Linked DNA regions of Homo sapiens: all the other regions are linked to region 6. The links are contacts of gene promoters, found by promoter capture Hi-C in blood cells and fetal thymus (Javierre and others, 2016). All regions are on one chromosome and are shown on one strand. The core of a region is centred on a gene start or on the middle of the fragment in contact, and the rest is flanking DNA. Distances in the headings are between cores, read along the strand shown. Region 1 overlaps BFSP2 (beaded filament structural protein 2). Region 2 holds the start of NUDT16 (nudix hydrolase 16). Region 3 has its middle 5.5 kb from the start of BFSP2-AS1. Region 4 overlaps LOC107986023 (a long non-coding RNA gene). Region 5 has its middle 28 kb from the start of CDV3. Region 6 holds the start of DNAJC13 (DnaJ heat shock protein family (Hsp40) member C13).

What was found. Contacts are between HindIII fragments. The CHiCAGO score rates a contact against its expected background, and 5 or more counts as called.
Region 1: a fragment that was not itself captured here is called in contact with the fragment with the promoter of DNAJC13 in region 6 in 1 of 17 cell types (fetal thymus); the score reaches 5.1 in fetal thymus.
Region 2: the fragment with the promoter of NUDT16 here is called in contact with the fragment with the promoter of DNAJC13 in region 6 in 2 of 17 cell types (total B cells and activated CD4 T cells); the score reaches 8.3 in total B cells.
Region 3: a fragment that was not itself captured here is called in contact with the fragment with the promoter of DNAJC13 in region 6 in 1 of 17 cell types (non-activated CD4 T cells); the score reaches 5.4 in non-activated CD4 T cells.
Region 4: a fragment that was not itself captured here is called in contact with the fragment with the promoter of DNAJC13 in region 6 in 1 of 17 cell types (fetal thymus); the score reaches 5.4 in fetal thymus.
Region 5: a contact is called between a fragment that was not itself captured here and the fragment with the promoter of DNAJC13 in region 6, in 1 of 17 cell types (M0 macrophages). The highest score is 6.0, in M0 macrophages.

What each region holds. Positions count from the first base shown.
Region 1 is chr3:133,442,233-133,445,292 of GRCh38, forward strand. All of the region lies in intron 1 of BFSP2 (beaded filament structural protein 2), which reads left to right. The region is part of intron 2 of BFSP2-AS1 (BFSP2 antisense RNA 1); the gene reads right to left. Among named protein-coding and RNA genes, the nearest start is that of BFSP2, 44 kb to the left of the region's middle. RefSeq lists an enhancer at 1-5. The HindIII fragment of the contact is 3,562 bases long and covers 1-3,060 here.
Region 2 is chr3:131,380,432-131,383,779 of GRCh38, forward strand. NUDT16 (nudix hydrolase 16) reads left to right here and starts at 1,343. Exons shown (of 3, transcript NM_152395.3): 1 at 1,343-1,511; 2 at 1,615-1,884; 3 at 2,731-3,348. The coding sequence starts at 1,374. The coding sequence ends at 2,910. NUDT16-DT (NUDT16 divergent transcript) reads right to left here and starts at 1,044. Exons shown (of 4, transcript NR_038976.1): 1 at 902-1,044. RefSeq lists enhancers at 652-921, 1,213-1,782, 1,783-2,351 and a silencer at 1,032-1,331. The HindIII fragment of the contact is 2,474 bases long and covers 1-1,934 here.
Region 3 is chr3:133,495,057-133,498,102 of GRCh38, forward strand. No RefSeq gene overlaps it. Among named protein-coding and RNA genes, the nearest start is that of BFSP2-AS1, 5.5 kb to the left of the region's middle. The HindIII fragment of the contact is 2,331 bases long and covers 111-2,441 here.
Region 4 is chr3:130,750,747-130,753,683 of GRCh38, forward strand. LOC107986023 (a long non-coding RNA gene) reads right to left here. Exons shown (of 3, transcript XR_001740492.2): 3 at 557-651. Among named protein-coding and RNA genes, the nearest start is that of PIK3R4, 5.4 kb to the left of the region's middle. The HindIII fragment of the contact is 3,872 bases long and covers 1-2,937 here.
Region 5 is chr3:133,544,156-133,547,456 of GRCh38, forward strand. It overlaps the pseudogene FAM76AP1. Among named protein-coding and RNA genes, the nearest start is that of CDV3, 28 kb to the right of the region's middle. The HindIII fragment of the contact is 5,393 bases long and covers 1-3,301 here.
Region 6 is chr3:132,416,210-132,419,113 of GRCh38, forward strand. It overlaps DNAJC13 (DnaJ heat shock protein family (Hsp40) member C13), which reads left to right and starts at 1,293. Exons shown (of 56, transcript NM_015268.4): 1 at 1,293-1,551. RefSeq lists silencers at 983-1,082, 1,363-1,502 and enhancers at 1,533-1,682, 1,622-2,157. The HindIII fragment of the contact is 2,245 bases long and covers 910-2,904 here.

The sequences.
Region 1 (3,060 bases), core at 110-2,609, 1.0 Mb after region 6:
GGCCTCAAGAGATCCTCCCACATCAGTCTCCCAAGTAGCTGGACTGTGGGTGCACATCATGACACCTGGATAAATTCTGTTTTTTTGTTTTGTTTTGTTTTTTGGAGAGATAGGGTTTTGCTATGTTGCCCAGGCTGGTCTCAAACTTCTAGGCTCAAGCAATCCACCCACCCTGTCCTCCCAAAGTGCTGGGCTTATAGGCGTGAACCACCACACCTAGCCCCTCTGAAGAGTTTTAATTTAGTTTAATCAGAGTGACATGATATGATTTTAAGAGTTTAAAAAGCCCACTCTGGAAGCAGGATGCAGAATGCATTGGAGGAGGGAGGTACAGATCAGGGAGTTGGAAGGATATTACAATGGGATATTATAATGGGATAGGAGAGCATGATGGGGACTTGCACTAGGGTGATGTCAAGAGAGGTAGAGAGAAATAAATGGATTTGAGATACATTGTGGGGGTAGAATTGACTAGACTCAGTGATAAATGAGATGTGGGAGATGACAGAAAGTGAGAGATCAAGATGATCCCTTGGTTTCCGGGTAGACATTGGGGTTGTTTACTGAGATGAAGAGGATCAAGGGGTGGTGGGGAAAGGGAAGATTTGTGGGGAAATTATCTAGATTTTCTTTTTTTTTTTTTTAATGGATTTTCACTCTTGTTGCCCAGGCTGGAGTGCAGTGGTGCGATCTCAGCTCACTGCTACCTCTGCCTCCTGGGTTCAAGCCATGATCCTGCCTCAGCCTCCTAAATAGCTGGAATTACAGGTGCGTGCAACCACGCCCAGCTAATTTTTTGTATTTTTAGTAGAGGCAGGGGTTTCACTATGTTGGCCAGGCTGGTCTGGAACAACTGACCTCAGGTAATCCACCCACCTCAGCCTCCCAAAGTGCTGGGATTCCAGGCGTGAGCCACCGCACCCGGCCAAAATTATCTAGATTTTCATTCGGGGACATGTTAAGTTTGAGATGTCTGAGAAATAGCCAAGTGAAGACCTCAAAGAGAGGGTGAGTATGCAAGTGTGGAGCTGAGCAGAAAGTTCTGAGATAGACATTTAAATGTGAAAGTCATTAGCACATACAATGCCATTTAAATCTGTGTGGATAGATCAGACCATTTAGTGATTAAAAAAAAGAAGCACCAAGACCCAATCTTGAAAAACTTTAACATTTAGAGGTCAGATAAGGAAGAAAAACCTGGTGAAGCAGAGAATAATAAGAAAGAATGGTCAATGAAGTAGGAGGAAGTCCAGAGAGAGTGGTGTCATGGAAGCCGAGACAGAAAAGTACATCTGTGACAAATGCAACCAGCAGGTCAATATGAGCACAGAGAAGCATCTGCCGGGCTTGGTAATACGGTGGCCTTGTTATTAAGAGCAGTATCACTGGGGTGCTAGGGACTGAGAATTATTTCTCATTCCTTTATTGCTAGAAGCAAGTTATGCTGAACATCCATCCTAAACTTGAAAGTCAAATAAATGTGGGAAGGGTTTCCAAGGGAATCTTGCATCTTGCCACTGCACCAGCTGAGTTTAATTTCCCAGGAGCTCAGTCTTACCCACCTCCTCCCCACACCTGCAGCTCTAGCTGCCAGAATGCCAATATCTTTACTCCAAACAAACCATTCATTGTACCCTTGGGCCCAAATGATAACCTTTTTTAAAACGCTGCTTGTATTTGCCTTTCCTTTAACACAATGATGGTCAAATCTCTCATCCACCACCACCAGCTCATTTATTTTAATAACTACATCCGCAGTGAAAACAGGAGTAGTATTATAGAAAGAGATAAAGTCCTCACCATCATGGTACAAATGACTAGGACTTTTCAGATGACTATGGACAGGAAAAACAAAGGAAAAAAATATATATGTATATATATACATATATATATATCAAGCCACTAGATGGAAGTCTTCATTCAACTGCCTGTGCACTTCAGAAAAGTAAAGCAGGATCAGTGCCAGACTGCACAAACCCATCAAATTCATTCGACATTCATTGAACAACTGCTTTGTACAAAGACAAATAACAATGATGATAATGGCTACCGTTCATGCAATATTTACTCTGTGCCAGGCAATCTGCTGAGTCACACATACGCTGAGTCTCACACACCTTGGCTCATTTAATTCTCCCAGGAGGAAGGGAGTATTATTATCTTCATTTTATGGGGGAGGAAACCAAATCTTAGAATTACTTACTCTAAGCAACTGACCCATGCTTGTGAATGGAGGAGCCAGTTTCCAGAATAAGAAAACACTGTCGTTGTCTACAAAGTATTTATACTAAATGTGGTAAGAGAGGGATAATGTGCCACAGGGGTGGGCTGTGACTCAGATGCAGGAACCAGCCAATGAGGGAGGAAGAGAATCAGCAAAGGCCCCACCATGCTCTCTACAGCTCAGGATGAAACGGAGCGGTCACCCCTAATTGTTTTCCCTCACTCTCCCCATAACTACTGCACCACAAAGAACCGACTGTTCTATCCCCCAAATGCATCTTAAACTAGTCCACATTTTTCCACCTACCCTATGATCACATCGTTCGTCCAGGCCACCATCATTAATAAAATGGGCTCCCTGGACCACCGCAAGAGCCTCCCGACTGGTTCTTTGGCATCTTCTCCTGCCTCCTCCAATCCTCTCTTCCCACAGTAGTCAGAGGGTCCACTTAGTGCACAGATCACCTCTGTAACCTGCTCAAGCCCTTTCAAAGGCTTCCCAGTAAATCTCAACTCCTTTCCATTGTGCCCAAGGCCTTCCCTCTATGGTCTGGTCTTGTCTACCTTTTTAACCTCATCTCCTACAGTAGCGGCTGGTTTCTCAACAAACAGGACAGAGCCTGGCATAAACAGTAATTATGTGCTGAAGAAATTAAGGCAAGAATGAATGAGTGAATAAATAGAAAAGTTTCATGGGGAAGCCGTGTTTGAAATGAGCATTATACTGGAGCAGGCTTTCTCAGACTGAGGGCTGGGAGTGGGGAGGTAGTGAAACAAGTTGCTCTCAATGGAGGCAGCAGGTGCAAAGGCACAGAGGGATTCCAGGTGCAGCAGGGA
Region 2 (3,348 bases), core at 93-2,592, 1.0 Mb before region 6:
AGAGAGTTAAGTGACTTGTTAAGGTCACAAACCTGTTTCTGGGTGGGTCCGGACTCTTTCCCACCATATGCCGTCACTTACAGGCTGTGAGTTTATGCCCAGCCCCCCTCAAGGAGCTGCCTCCTGCTTTCTATTGCATAATCAATATCGACACCTGGTGTAGGGGCGCTCTGCAGGGTGGGGAAGGCCTGGCCTGGAGTGAGGGATCCTGCATCTCAGCATCAGGCCCTGAGTAGGCCTCTGCCCTTGTGGTAGGGTAACCCACCCTCCTTCATAGCTCAGAGGTCTGAGGGGGTTTGAGGGAAAGACTAGAAAGCCTAGGAGGCTTCTTCTATCTCTCACCCCTCCTCACTCCCAGTCCTGTGCCACAGGATTTCACTCACAGCTCCTTCCACCCCCACCCTTCCCCTGAAAATCTCACTGCCCTGTGACTTCTCTATGTGCCACTCCCTGTGCGTCAGACCCCCACGATCAGCTGCCCACTGCCTATGGCCACCCCAATTCCTTAGAACTACACTTATCACTGCTCACCCTTCTCCTACTCTCCCCCTCTCAGAAAATGACACCACATCCAGGAAACTCGGAACCACCACTAGCCCAGCGCTCCCTCTTCCCCATTCACTCAGTCACCAAGTCCCCTCAATTTCACCACTCAAGATAGTTGTCAGACCATGGCGCCTGTCCATCTCCATTTCCCTAGGATAGGCCTTGGTGTCTGAGGCCAACCCTGCCTCATTTCCTCCTAACCCCCACCCAGGCCTTGTGCTTTGTGTACCACCACACCCAACCAAAGGTAGTTATTACTTCTTTGGCTCCCAGCACTCAACTGAGCGCCCCAGCTCTTCCTCACCTGCCGGGACACTCCAGCTGACTCCAGATTGCGACGCAGGCGTTTACGTACCAGCCTTTCTCCAGGTTCAGGGCGCTGCCACATCTTCAGCCCCGACCCGCCGCAAGTCTCATTTCCTCCTAACCCCAACCCAGGCCTTGTGCTTTGTGTACCACCGAACCCAACCAAAGCTAGTTCCCTGACTTGCTCTTTTGGCTCCCAGGAGCCTTTAGGTACCGGCCTTGCGCCAGGTTTAGGGCGCGGCCACACCTCTAGCCCCGCCCCACCGCAGGCCCAACCCAGAGGCTGCTTTCGGTTACCCTAGGGTTCCTGGGCCCTGGACTTCAACCCGGTCTGCAAGCCCCGCCCTGATTAGCTGCCTCCCGCACCGGTCGCGGCGCCCCGCCCCCAGGCGCCTAGGTTCCTCCCCTTATCCCTGCAGGGATTGGGCCTTGCAGCACCGCCCAGGCTCGGATTGGTCCGAGGTGAGACCCGCCCCTCTGCCCATTGGGCCTTCGGGACAGCAGAGGAGCAGTGTCCGGCCATGGCCGGAGCCCGCAGGCTGGAGCTAGGCGAGGCCCTGGCGCTGGGGTCGGGCTGGCGTCATGCGTGCCACGCTCTCCTCTACGCGCCGGACCCTGGGATGCTCTTCGGCCGCATCCCGCTGCGCTACGCCATACTGGTGAGAAGGGGGCGCGCCCGGCCACTTTCTGCCTGAGCCCCGCACCCTCTCTGGTGGTCTCCTCTGGGGCGCCCCTGCCAATCCCCGCTTCCCCCTCCCGCAGATGCAGATGCGCTTCGATGGACGCCTGGGCTTCCCCGGCGGATTCGTGGACACGCAGGACAGAAGCCTAGAGGACGGGCTGAACCGCGAGCTGCGCGAGGAGCTGGGCGAAGCGGCTGCCGCTTTCCGCGTGGAGCGCACTGACTACCGCAGCTCCCACGTCGGGTCAGGGCCACGCGTTGTGGCCCACTTCTATGCCAAGCGTCTGACGCTCGAGGAGCTGTTGGCTGTGGAGGCCGGCGCAACACGCGCCAAGGACCACGGGCTGGAGGTGGGACCAGCCTGGGACTCTGTCCCTTTCCCAATTTCCTCTTCTCCCAAAGCTTTCTCTCCCCCAAGAAAGCATCCCTGGAGAAAAGTCTTTGCCCCTCTGACCTTGCCCTCTCCCCAGCTTTCTTGGTGGAGTTGGGATCGTGATCATCTATACTCTGAATTAGTACTGCCAACCTGGGCTTTCTGTAAAGGTCTTTCCCACCCTTTACCAGGAGAGATCCTTTCTAGAACACACTCATCCATGTCTCTCTGCTGTTCCCTATTGACAGTGTGATAGATTATCACATTATCTAGGTGTGGCAACCTAGGTTTTATTCTTGGGGTTTGCTTTTCTTGTGTAGGAGATGTGGCCCTGATATTTCAGGCAGGGCTAGTAGATAGATTATGTATGAAGGTGGTTCTCAAAATTTGGCAGGTAGCAGAATCATCGGGGCGTCTTATTAAAATAGCGATTTCTCTCAGCATTCCTGCATTGGTGGTGGGGCGGGGGGAGAGGAAACCTGAGAATTTGTAGTTTTCAAAAGTTCCCAAATAATGCTGATGCAAATAATCTGAGGACCACATTTTGACAACCACTGGTGAAAGGGTATGAATACATCTTTGAGGCAGTAGCCACTAGAGGTTTAGAAGCAGATGTGGGAAAGATTAATTGATAGAGCTAGATAATATGTTTTGGGTCATTTTCCTGCAGAAGGTTGGGCCACTAGGCTTTAGTGAGGTGTGAGCCTTGGGCCTGGTTCTGCTGGAGTATTAAGGGGTGAGGCCTGATCTGCTGGAGAAAGGATGGAGTTAAGGGAATGAGCCACCTGGGGCCCTAGTGTCTCCTGTCTCCTTCCTTTTACAGGTGCTGGGCCTGGTGCGAGTGCCCCTGTATACCCTGCGGGATGGTGTAGGAGGCCTGCCTACCTTCCTGGAGAATTCCTTTATTGGCTCTGCGCGGGAGCAGTTACTTGAAGCTCTCCAGGACTTGGGACTGCTGCAGTCTGGCTCTATTTCAGGCCTTAAGATTCCAGCTCATCACTAGAGGCAGCCCTCCATGGACCCATGAAAACTGAGATGAGGACCTTGGTACTAGGGAGGGAGGGAAGGACGTGGGAATGTTTTCTTATTGGATCTGAGAGATGATACATGATACCAGATGAAAAGAAGGAGAAGTGTGTACCATATGTTTTGAGCAGAGGACCCTCCAACTTATGGCATCAGGGGCAAAAAGTCACAGCTTATCCCAGGCACCCTGGCAGGTTCTCAGAGCCTGCCTCCTCCCTGTTTATATGCGTACAGCCTGGTAACCCCCAGGCATGCAAATATACAATCTGTAACAACACACAGCCTGACACCTTCCCCTGGTCATGTCCAGTTTAACCTTGAAGTGGCATTTGTCACACTACCCTGGTCCCTGATTGCAAGGAGCTTCTGAAGCAAGGGTGAATCCTTCCCACACTCCTCCATGGTTGCCCTCCAG
Region 3 (3,046 bases), core at 26-2,525, 1.1 Mb after region 6:
GCACACTTTCAGTTGGAATACCATAAAACTCACCAGGAGGCATGTGATATCAATATGTCCCTCTCCTGGTGATATTAATTTTGTTTACTGGGTTCAGGTGGCGTGTGCCAAGCTTCTCCACTGTAAAGTTACTGTTTTTCCATTTGTAATTAGTAAGTATCTTGTGGAAAAATATTTTTAGTCTATTTTGAGTAAATATTGTTATTCCTCAAACTTTCTGTCCCAGAAGTTTTAGTTTTAGCATCAATTGATGATTCCTGCCCACGTCAATTATTACTTATTATGGTTGCCAAATGGTGATTTTCAAATTCCATCATTTCTTCTACATTTTTTAGTTGGCTTTCTTCTATAAGAAAAAATGTTCTGGCCGGGCACGGTGGCTCGCGCCTGTAATCCCAGCACTTTGAGAGGCCAAGGCAGGAGGATCACCTGAGGTCGGGAGTTCAAGACCAGCTTGATCAACATAGAGAAACGCTGTCTCTACTAAAAATACAAAATTAGCTGGGCGTGGTGGCACATGCCTGTAATCCCAGCTACTCGGGAGGCTGAGGCAGGAGAATTGCTTGAACCTGGGAGGCGGAGGTTGTGGTGAGCCAATATTGCACCATTGCACTCCAGCCTAGGCAACAAGAGCGAAACTCCATCTCAAAAAAAAAGAAAGAAAGAAAGAAAGAATGTTCCTTTCTTCCCTATTGTGTGTGTGTGTGTGTGTGTGTGTGTGTGTGTGTGTGTGGTGTGTGTGTGTTTATATCAGCATGAACACATGGAGGGGCTGCAAGTTTTGAGCAGGGCCTAGAGCAAAAAGGCATCTGTAGCAAGCTGAGGTGTGGAGCCAGCTGCCTGCCACTGCACCTATGACCAGCATGCCCAATAATTGTGGAAGTATCTGTTGCAGACAAAGGTAACATATAGAACCCTTGGCACGCCACAGTAGGAGAATAACAGTCATAGGATATTTGAGAAAGGCTATGTCCACCACTGTTGTCAGTTAGTCTCCACTAAAAAGCAACTCCTGACTTCCTCCTGAAACCTCATGGACTGAGCACTTGGCTTCAGGACCTACTCTGTACCTGGGCTATGTGAATGGGTGCTCCTCCTGCTGAACACCAGTGTATTCCAGCAATAGGGAGCACCAGCAGGAGAATGAGGGACGAAAGAGAGTGAGGTCAGTGTATTTATTGCCCTGCCCCTCCCTGCAGCATCACCACAGGCCAGTTCTGATGATGAATTGAGGAAAAAATATCACTCCTATGATATTTTTACCAAAAATGCGTAATCCAAATCTAATCCTGAGAAAACATCAGACAAGCTCAAATGGAGGCACAGTCTACAAAATCATTGGCCTGTACAACCCAAAAAACATCAAGTTTATAAAAGACAAGGGAAGACTGAGGAACTGTGCAGATTAAAGAAAACTAAAGAAACCTGACAACTAAATGCAACCCATGAACCTGGATTGTATCCTGGACCAGAAAATTGTTTTCTTTTGTTACAAAGGACACATTTTGGACAACTGATGGAATTTAAATAAAGTCTGTAAGTTAGATAATAATATTGTATCAATGTTTATTTCCTAATTTTCTTATAACTGTATAAAAGATTAGGTTCATGCTATACATGCTGTTTTTGTTCTTTTGTTGTTGTTGTTTTTGATTTTGTTTTTTTTTTTTTTTCTGAGACAGGGTCTTGCTCTGTCACCCAGGCTGGAGTGCAGCGGGTGCAGCGGTGCAATTTCAGCTCACTGCAGCCTTGACCTCCCCAGCTCAATCAATTAGCCCTCCCATCTCAGATTCTCAAGTAGGGACTACAGGTATGTACCACCACACCAGGCTAATTTTTTTTTTTTTTTTGTAGAGGTGGGGTTTCACCATGTTGCCCAGGCTGGTCTCAAACTCCTGTGTTTAAGCGATCCACCCGCCTCGGCCCCACAAAGTGCTGGGGTTACAGGTTTGAACCACCACACCAGGCCTTAAATTTTAAATAGAGACGGAGTCTTACTATGTTGCCCAGGCTAGTCTTGAAGTCCTGGGCTCAAACAATCCTTCCACCTCAGCCTCCCAAAGTTCTGAGATTATGGAAGTGAGCCACCATACCCAACTTATGCTGCTTTTTAAGAAAACTGAGTTTTTAGTTTAATTTCACTTGAACTTAACACAAGAAAAAATGAAATTAAATTGAAAGAAATGTTAGACTTTTAACACATTTTTTTCACCTTAGGAAATATTCGTTGTTATAGGATTCTTCTGTTTCTATAGGTTTAAAAAAATGAAAGCTGTTAAGAGGTTGGAATGTTATACATTACTTTTAAGTGCATGTTTCATTTTTACATAGTATCAATTCTCTCTATACTATAAAACATGTAATTATTGGCATAGGTATATTTCTTCCTTTTCCCTTCTCTTTCACTCTTGTTTGTTGCTCATATCATTTCTACTTTATCAAGCTTTATAGTCTGGGCACGGTGGCTCACACCTGTAATCTCAGCACTTTGGGAGGCTGAGGTGGGCAGATCACTTGAGGTCAGGAATTCAAGACCAGCCCGGCCAACCTGGTGAAACCCCATCTCTACTAAAAGTACAATAATCAGCCGTGCCTGGCTGATTAGCATCATTCTTAATCAATTTTTCCAAATGAATGCTATGTTTTATCTGCCTGAAAATTCTCTTCTTTTTTCTTCTTGGGGCATTTGTTTTGTATTATATCTCTGAATATATTTTTCTGGTTTTATTTGTTAGACTCTCTACTTCAAAGCCATCAAAGGATTATCTTTGCCCTTTTCTATGTCTATCATTTTCTTTCTAGATTAAAAAATTTTTTTTCTGGCTGGGCGCGTTGGCTCATGCCTGTAATCCCAGCACTTTTGGAGGCCAAGGCGGGTGGATCAGGAGTTCGAGACCAGCCTGGCCAACATAGTGAAACCCCATCTCTACTAAAACTACACAAAATTAGCCGAGTGTGGTGGTGGGTGCCTGTAATCCCAGTTACTTGGGAGGCTGAGGCAGGAGACTCGCTTGAGTCCGGGAGGCGGAGGTTGCGGTGAGCTGAG
Region 4 (2,937 bases), core at 344-2,843, 1.7 Mb before region 6:
TTTCTTTTCAAAGCAAATAAAAGATAAAATTTACTTGCTGCTGTTGAAGTCAAACTAAGAAAGAGCCAGCAAACACTAGACCATCCTCTAGCCAGTGTCCTTGCAGCTGCATTTTGGCAGTGATGGCTAACTGTCCCCTTCCACAGAAAATAGATGTTTCTGGGAAGTGCCTGAACTATAGGAACCATATTTTTCAGTCCCACGCCACTGTTTGCATCTAAGTGGAGCCATTTTACTAGCTTTCACTATGAAGTTCAGGTGGAAATTTTGTGTTTCATTTCTAGTACACAATAGTTAAGAGGTGAATGATTTCCACTTTCTTTCCTCTTTAACCTGGTTGCAGAAGACTTAAAGGCCCTAGTTAATGCCAGAGCCACAAGATGATAGGAGCCTGTGTCCCCGAATCACAGCCTGGAGAAAGACCCTTGCTTAGCAGGCACACTCACATAGAACTTTTACATACGCAAAAGTATACCCCATTATAAGCCAGCAAAATCTCATAATTTATTAATTATAGCAGTTAGCCTTGCCTTTATAAATACATTCATCTGCCTGATCTCTGTTCATTTCCTCCCTCTCCTGGGCTGCTTACTCCACCAGTGCACTTGCAGTCCTGTGAGATGTCCACGTGAGCTCTGCTATCCTTGCATCCTAAGGGAAAAAATAAGGCAAGGGGGAAGGATCCCTAATGTAAACAGCTCCTTCAAGTTAATAGTAAATATTTTATCTTCTTATACAAGAATGCCAGCTAATACATGCAAAATAAATTATAAGAAATTACCATTTTGTAACCTGCAGTGCAATAATTGATTTCTACATGGATTGTCAATGGGTTCTAAAATCACTGGGTAAAAGTTGTAGAACAACAAGATAGTCTCATGGTACCCAAGGAATACCTACAGATTATTTTCTATGTTAAAAAGGAATGAAAATGAACTTTTTATAGTGGAAAACCTTTTCATAACCCCTTTATCCAAGTGATCAAAGTTAGTATCATTAATAGTAGGACACAGATATTATGAGGCTCCTGATATAATGCAATGGGAAATATATACTGTCACCCAGGAAGCATTCTTGCCAAGAATATTTTTGGTTTTTTTCTTTTCTTTCTTTTTTTTTTTTTTTTTTTTTTTTTTGGACAGTCTTGCTCTGTTGCCCAGGCTGGAGTGCAGTAACATGATCTCAAGCTCACTGTAACTTTTGCCTCCCGGGTTCAAGCAATTATTGTGCCTCAGCCTCCCAAGTAGCTGGGATTACAGGTGCATGCCACCATGCCTGGCTGATTTTTGTATTTTTAGTAGAGATGGGGGTTACACCATGTTGACCAGACTGGTCTTGAACTCCTGATCTCAAGTGATCCACCCACCTCAGCCTCCCAAAGTGCTAGGACTACAGGTGTGAGTCACCTCACCCGGCTGCCAAGAATGTGTAACCTGAATTCAATCAAGCCCCTAGACCTCACTGCTCAATATGATAGCCACTAGTTACATTTGACTATTGAGTTCTTGAAATATGGCTACTACAAATTGAGATGTGCTATTAGTACAGAAAACATACAGATTTTAGAGAACTTAGTACAAAAAAATGAAAAAATCTCAATATATTTTTGATAAGTATTATATGTTGGAATCATATTTTAGATATATTGGGTTAAGGAAATATTTAATTAAAATGAATCTTTCTTTTTACTTTTTTTTTTGAAACGGAGCCTCGCTTTGTCGCCCAGGCTGGAGTGCAGTAGTGGGATCTTGGCTCACTGCAAGCTCCGCTCCTGGGTTCACGCCATTCTCCTGCCTCAGCTGGAGCTACAGGTGCCCGCCACCACACCCGGCTAATTTTTTGTATTTTTAGTAGGGACGGGGTTTCACCATGTTAGCCAGGATAGCCTCGATCTCCTGACCTCATGATCCGCCCACTTTGGCCTCCCAAAGTGCTGGGATTACAGGTGTGAGCCACCGCTCCCGGCCTCTTTTTACTTTTTAAAATGTGATTACTAATTTAAAATTACATATGTGGCTTATGTTATGTTTTTATTAGACAACCCCACTCTAGAACCAATTTCCAGCCTATAAAAAATAAAAGGAATAGAAAAATTAATTTAGCAATACCATCAGGAAACAATCAGACAGATCCAGAAAATGGAATATTAGCCTGGATTCTTCAAAGAGTCAATACCATGAAAAATATGGATGGACTTTTCTAAATTAAAAGATTCTAAAGAGACATGAAATTTAAATGCAATGTGTGAGCTTCAACTGGATCCAGGATTAGAAACAGCTACAAAAAACATTTCATGCATAATTGAAGAAATGTGAATATAGATTGAATATTTCAGAGAGAAACAAAGTGGCAGAAATGTTTTTAAAAGTTGGTAATTATTTCATTGCTATCACTTCTCTGGGTCTTATTTAAAAACACCTAAGCTGCCTGGCCTAAAGCTCTTTCACCATTACATATGAAAAAATTGGCAGACAAAGGATAGGGAGAACTAGATTCCAATTTTCTTGGAATGTATAATCTTGGGTAAAACTGTTCTTGAATAAATGGAAATGAAAGGGCTAACGTTTTTTAAAGAAGATGATTAGTCAAAAAAATCAAAGGATTTCATTGATAATAAGTGTTATGGAGAAAAAGTACAGGGTCCACGAGAATATATAATAAGGGGCAGTCAGGGAAGACATGCCCATGATATGGGCATTTAATCTGGAATGTAAGAGATGAACAGGTTTTGGCTAAATAAAGAACAATGGGAATAGTGTTGTAAGCGAAAGGAAGAGTAAAGGTAAAGGACTAGCAGTGGGGAGAAGTTTGACAAGTTAGGAACAAAGAGTAGGCCACTGTGGGGGATTGAAGGGGCAGTGAGTGAGATGCTGGCTGCAGAGGAGGAGGTGGGCAAACAGAATACATATATCCAAGCCATTCCTCTATCTTCCACTA
Region 5 (3,301 bases), core at 17-2,516, 1.1 Mb after region 6:
GCCCAGCCTATATACATTATTCTTAATCCTCACAAAGATGCCCTCATTTTATAGCTGTAGAAACTGAGGATAAGAAAACTTATGGGGCTTATACTAAATTACATAGCTAGAAAGTACAAGCTCTGGAATCAGATAGGCTGGCTTCACCACTTACCTGTGTGAAGCCTTGGGCAAGTTATTTTAACCTCTCTGTGCCTCAGTTTCCTCATTTGTAAAATGAGGATAATAATCATGATTCTTTCATTCATGCTGAGTTGTTGCAAGGATTTTATTTATTTATTTTTTTCTGAGTTATATTATGTGCCAGGTTCAATATTATTGTTTTATATACCTATCTGAATTACATTTCCCCATGTCTTTGTGAGACATGTCTTTGTGAGACAATAACTATTGTTATTCCCATGGAGAAAGATGAAGAAAGTGATGCATAATGCGGCCAAGTAGCCAGGGTCATTCAGCTAGCCCCAGGAGTCAGATGGGACCCAGGTTTGGGGGACTGCTGCTTGTGCTACCTCCTGATTACTAATTAAGATTCTTCAGTATCTTGATACAGGGAAGAGGTGTCCTGGTTGGCAGGCAGGAGTATCCTGGTCAATGGAAAGTTATATCCTTCCATTGTAAGTTAATGAATTTGGTAAGCAAGAGTCACCCCTTGAGCCCAAGCACCTCTTAAAAGCACCTCTGGTCACTGAAAAAGAGTTTCTCAACTGCCATCTTTTATTCAACAAATACTTATTGAGCAGCTACTATGTGCCAGGCCACTGGAAATAAAGCAGAGAATGAGATGGACAAAGAGCTCACATTCTAGTCGGGGTGGACAAACATGTAACCAAATAAGCAAGACTAGTTTTCAATATGTGAGATGCTATGAAGACAATAAAATGGTATGATAAATAATGACTAAGGGAGTCAGTAAAAGGTCACTGTGAGCAGGTGGTACCTGAGCTGAGACCTGACATGATCAGCCAGTTATGAGACTCTAGAGAAGGGTGCATTAGGCACAAGGACAGACAGTGCAAAGGTCGGAGTGAGATCTGCATGTCAGACAGACTACAGGGTGGTGGCCAGGATGGCTGGAGCAAGGTGAGAGGTAGAAAGTATGATGCAAGATGAGACTGAGAGCTGGGTATGGGCCTTGCAGGCCATAGAAGGGATTTCAGTTTTATTCTAAGCACAACTGGAAACCCGTGGAGGATTTTAAGCAAGAGAGTAATATGCCCAAACTCTAAATCATTTTGATTCTATCAAGGTCTACCCTTCCACGTAGAGCTTCCCTCTAACGTAATCTTGTAATCTTGAATTTCAACAGATAGAAACATTTAAAGAGCCAGATAGTAAAACTGGTAATGCCACTCCATCTTGCTTAAGTTACAATCTCTCCTTTACAGGATTCCACAGAATTCTGGCAATCACCATTTCACTTACGTGATGACTGTAATTCATATTCTCGTGAAATGTTAGAATATAATGGTCCACATTTTATGAATGAACAAAACAAAATATGAATATCTTCTTTAAGGTCAATAATAGAACCAGGAAAGAAACTGAGAAATCTTTCTTTGTTACATGTGTTTTTTTTTTTTTGTTTTTTTTTTTTTTGAGATGGAGTCTTGCTCTGTCACCCAGGCTGGAGTGCGTGGCATGATCTCAGCTCACTGCAACCTCTGCCTCCCGGGTTCAAGTGATTCTTCTGCCCCAGCCTCCCGAGTAGCTGGGACTACAGGCGCATGCCACCACGCCTGGCTAATTTTTTGTATTTTTAGTAGAGACGCGGTTTCACCGTGTTAGCCACGATAGTCTTGATCTCCTGACCTCATGATTCTTGCCTCGCCCTCCCAAAGTGCTGGGATTACAGGCATGAGCCACCACGCTCGGCCTATTAAATGTGTTTTTAACACAGTCCACCTTAATTTCTCGTTCCATACAACTGCACGTTCTGAGCACATTTCTTGCATATTGTATTGGTTTTACTCTCCTGCTGGTACTCAGTCCTGCAGTAGGTGCACTTCACAACAGGGTGTGCAATCCGACATTCCTTGCACAGCTGCTGCCCCTGAGACAGCACCTGGAAGGGGAAACGCTGGTGGCACTTGGTGCAGGCGTAGAGCGCCGCCATGTCCGGCCCGGGCCGCGCTCACCGACCCGCCAGCCCGGCCCGCTGATTTATCTCGTTGCAAGGATTTTAAAGATAATGCACAGAGGGCCGGGCACAGTGGCTCACGCCTGTAATCCCAGCACTTTGGGAGGCCAAGGCGGGCAGATCACGAGGTCAGGAGTTCGAGACCAGCCTAGCCAACATGGTGAAACCCCGTCTCTACTAAAAATACAAAAATTAGCTGGGCGTGATGGCGGGTGCCTATAGTCCTAACTGCTTGGGAGGCTGAGGTAGAGGAATTGCTTGAAACTGGAAGGCGGAGGTTGCAGTGAGCCAAGATCATGCCACTGCACTCCAGCCTGGGCGAAAGAGCGAAACTCCGTCTGAAAAAAAAAAAAAAAAAGGTAATGCACAGAGCCTGGTACATAGAAATTACTGAATTCATGGTAGTTGTCGTTATAAGTCGTGGAGTCAAGATTTAAATCCACATCTCCTTAGCTCCAATTTCTTCATTCTTTTCTCTCTGATCCAGCATAACCAGGTGTCAGGCACTTCTGTGTCCATGATCTCATAGAATCTTCATAATACCTCTGTGAGGTGAATATTTCTGGCTAGCTTTTATGCTTGTAGGAAATAAGGCACAGAGAGGTGAGGTGACTTTACCAAGGTAATCCAGTAAATAAAGCATTCTATTCTAGCTCCACGGATTCTAATATTTCTTCCCCTATGTTACCTCTCATCCCAGTGCATGGAGGTTCACAGGCATAATATAAAGGAACATTTTCCTCTACAATGGTTTGCTAATAGCCTCTATATCTAAGGTAGTCAGTCAAGATTATGAGCTAAGTCAGTGGCCCAACCTGAGACTATGACAGGCAGAGTTCTGTTCCCATAAGAGTCAGCTCCTGCCAGGTTCAGAAAGCTCAGGCCACAGAATATGCTGTTAATCTTGAGAAAGTCCTTCAGGAGAAGGAAGCTGTCTCTCCCTCTTTTTCTCCCTCTCTCTCCCCTGCTCCTACACCACACACACACACACACACACACACACACACACACACAATGCTTATAAGAGTCTTCACCCTTGGGACAAGCAACTAACCATTGAAAAGAGATCGGTTATATAAGACTTTTCTGTTCGGAAGCCTGAAAAGTGAAAACCAGCTGTGATATGGTTTGGATCTGTGTACCTGCCAAATCTCATGTTGA
Region 6 (2,904 bases), core at 43-2,542:
CAAATAGTCTTTTTCCGCCCTAAGGTAGGGCAAAGGGTTAATAGAATCAAGAGGTAAAGTCTGTAAAAACCATTTTTCCACATTTTTTCATCCTGCAATCGCTGTCTATAAAATGAGCCAACTTGCTGAAGGGGACGCCAAGAAATCACAATTTCAGGACTGCCATGAAGAATGAGTATTCAACTCCTTATCAGAGACCTTTAACCCTTATACAATAATGTATCCATGCAGGTCACCCTACACTGCCTCTACTCTGAAGTCTGCAGCAGAATCACTATTTTTTTTTTAATCACTAATTTTTAAACTGTGGTCTTTACGGCTCAGATCTGGGAGTGGACATTGACCTTTCTTATTTAAACCATTGCCCACAGATAACACATAATTTCTAGCCGAATCCTTTAGTCCCAATATCCCCTCTTTTCACTGCCCTGACTTCCCTCTCAGGTGAGGTTCAGGAAGATGGTTATCTAGAGGGCACAGGTTCTGGGTTCAAATTACTTGGGTGCAAACATGAAATCCACTACTCTGAGGCTGGGCCTCAACTTATCTGCAAAACGAGGATGATTCGTATCTCAGAGAGTTGAAGATTAAGCAGCTTTAAGTAAACTTCTAAACACTTGATCCGGACACAATAAATGGGGCTACCAGAACTATCTTTCCAGCATTCCCACCTGCAAATGCCTTAGGCGTCTCTGAGAATTTGGTCTCTGAGACCTTCCAGAGCATCCATAACTTAAACCCTGCTCTGCTGTCGTTCAGGACGTCTCAATAGTAAATGAACCTGCTGGCTCCCAATCCAGCCAAACCAGGAGATAGGCTGAGGCTTCAGACTGCCTCGCAGATGCTCCATGGCACTTGACGGCAAGAGCTAAAAAGAGGTGATTTAAAACAAGATTTCCTCGGACTTAAAGCTTAAGTACCGGGTTGCGACCCTACTCTCCGCAGGACATAAGCGGAGGGGCGCGGCCCTAAGGCACACGCCGGAGGGGCGTGGTCATGGGCACCCGCCGGAGGGGCGTGGTCATGGGCACCCGCGCGCGCCCAGGGGCGTGTCCTTTTCAGCACCCACCGAGGCGCCAGCCCCCTGACGCGCTGCGTGGAATCCAAATCCCACGGCCGGTGTCGTTACTCTGCGCATGTGTAGCTGCTGGGGGCTGGCCGGAGGAAAGCAGAATTTCAGGGAAAGAACGATCGGGACGGGGAGGACGGGGAGGGCGGGGCAGAAGACGGAAGAGTTGAAATCAGCTGACTGGGTCTCGTGACAGCCTGGGCGGTGGCGACGCAGGCGTATTAGAGCGCGCTCGCTCAAAGCCTGAGCGAAGATGGCGGCCTCCAGAGTGAAACTCTGAGAGGCAGAGGGAGGAGGCGGAGGGGGCGGGGAGGCAGCGCCGCGGCGGCACCAGGAACCCGCGGCAGCGGAGCTGCAGGGCCCCGGCGGGGGAAAGGGGAAGTGGTGAGGGTGAGGAGGCCGGAGGGCGCCTCATCCCACTCTGGAAGCTGAGCCGGCGGCGGGAGGAGCTAGGGCTGGAGCCTCTCCAGCCTCCCGCGAAGGTAAAGCCGACTCCGGGCACTGGGCTCTGGGGCTCTGCCTTACTCCCTTCCCACGCCGTGGGGACTTTGTGGGGCTCAGGGCAGGGAAAACGGGGTGGTCTTGGCTGCTGCAGCCTGCAGCTGCTAAGGAAGCAGATTACCCTTCCCCCAGGCTGCTGGTCTGGTTCCTTTCGTTGGACGCCCCCCCGGCTTTGAGTGACATTAGCTCAGGGCGCTGCCCTGTCCAGCCCCACCCCTTTTTTTTGCTTGTTTTATACCTAGTACGCTCCTCCACTCGCCTTAACATATCCTTACCCCACAGGCTCTTCATTCCCTTGTGGGTTCCGCCCTCGGGATTCCCTTCCAGTCTCCTAGTCTGAGCACCCTTCCTGCTGGATGCCGGCAACTCTTGTTTCCTTGGGTCAGCGACCCTCCTTCCGAACAAGTCCTGCAGACTGACTTTCTTTGCTTTGTTTCGTTTTGTTAGGAAATGAGCATCCGCGTCGTCTGTTCTCCAGTACTTTTTCTAAAATCATTTTCTCCCCTAAGGCTTTTCCTTCCTGCAAGGCAGCTTATTCACGTGGCCTTTCCTCCGCTGCTGTGATTTTATCTTTGAATGTGGCCTTTGGAGTGGGTAAAGTAGGACTTAGACGCTCAGTGAAGTGGCTGTTAATCACTTGATACTTAACTATGTTTAAGAGTGCCTTCCCTTAAATTTTCTCCTTTTGTAGCGTGTTCCGTTAACCACGTTTGTCTTAAGATTGTTTCCTGTGTCCGTTGCTTAGAGGGGGGAAAAAAGTAAAGATTTCACCCTAATGTGGCGGTGGTCTCCCAAAGTAATTATTTCTCATTTTCCCTCTGCTTTTCCCTTTTACGTTATTCTGATTTCCCTCAAAAAGGAGGTTCTGTACCTGATGCTGTTGCGTCCTCTATGAAGGGCTTTATAGTGTACAGTTATGTTGAGCCTTTTGTAATACAGTGTCTTGGGGAAAAAAGTAGAAGTTCAGAACCTGCCCCCAGTAATTCTTTCTTACTATATTTTCTTTCTCAGTTTATGGACTTGATAGGTTTCTAGGTTTGAAACTACTGCCTGCAGGGAAAATTACAGTGATAAGGTTTTATAATATATTACCAGTACTTTGAGTTTATGGGAGTATGAAACAGAATTTGCCTTAAAAAAATAAATTTATAGAAACCACTTGTCAGAAATTCGGTATCCAGAACACAGTTCTTTGATTTTTGGAAAGTACTTTATTGGCTTATCTATCATATAACGTAAAACCTTGTTCACATTTTGTGTAATGTGAAACGCTTTTTAAGCTACTATATCTCAGACTTGGCTTGTGCTGTTAGTATCACAATGCATTCAGGCAA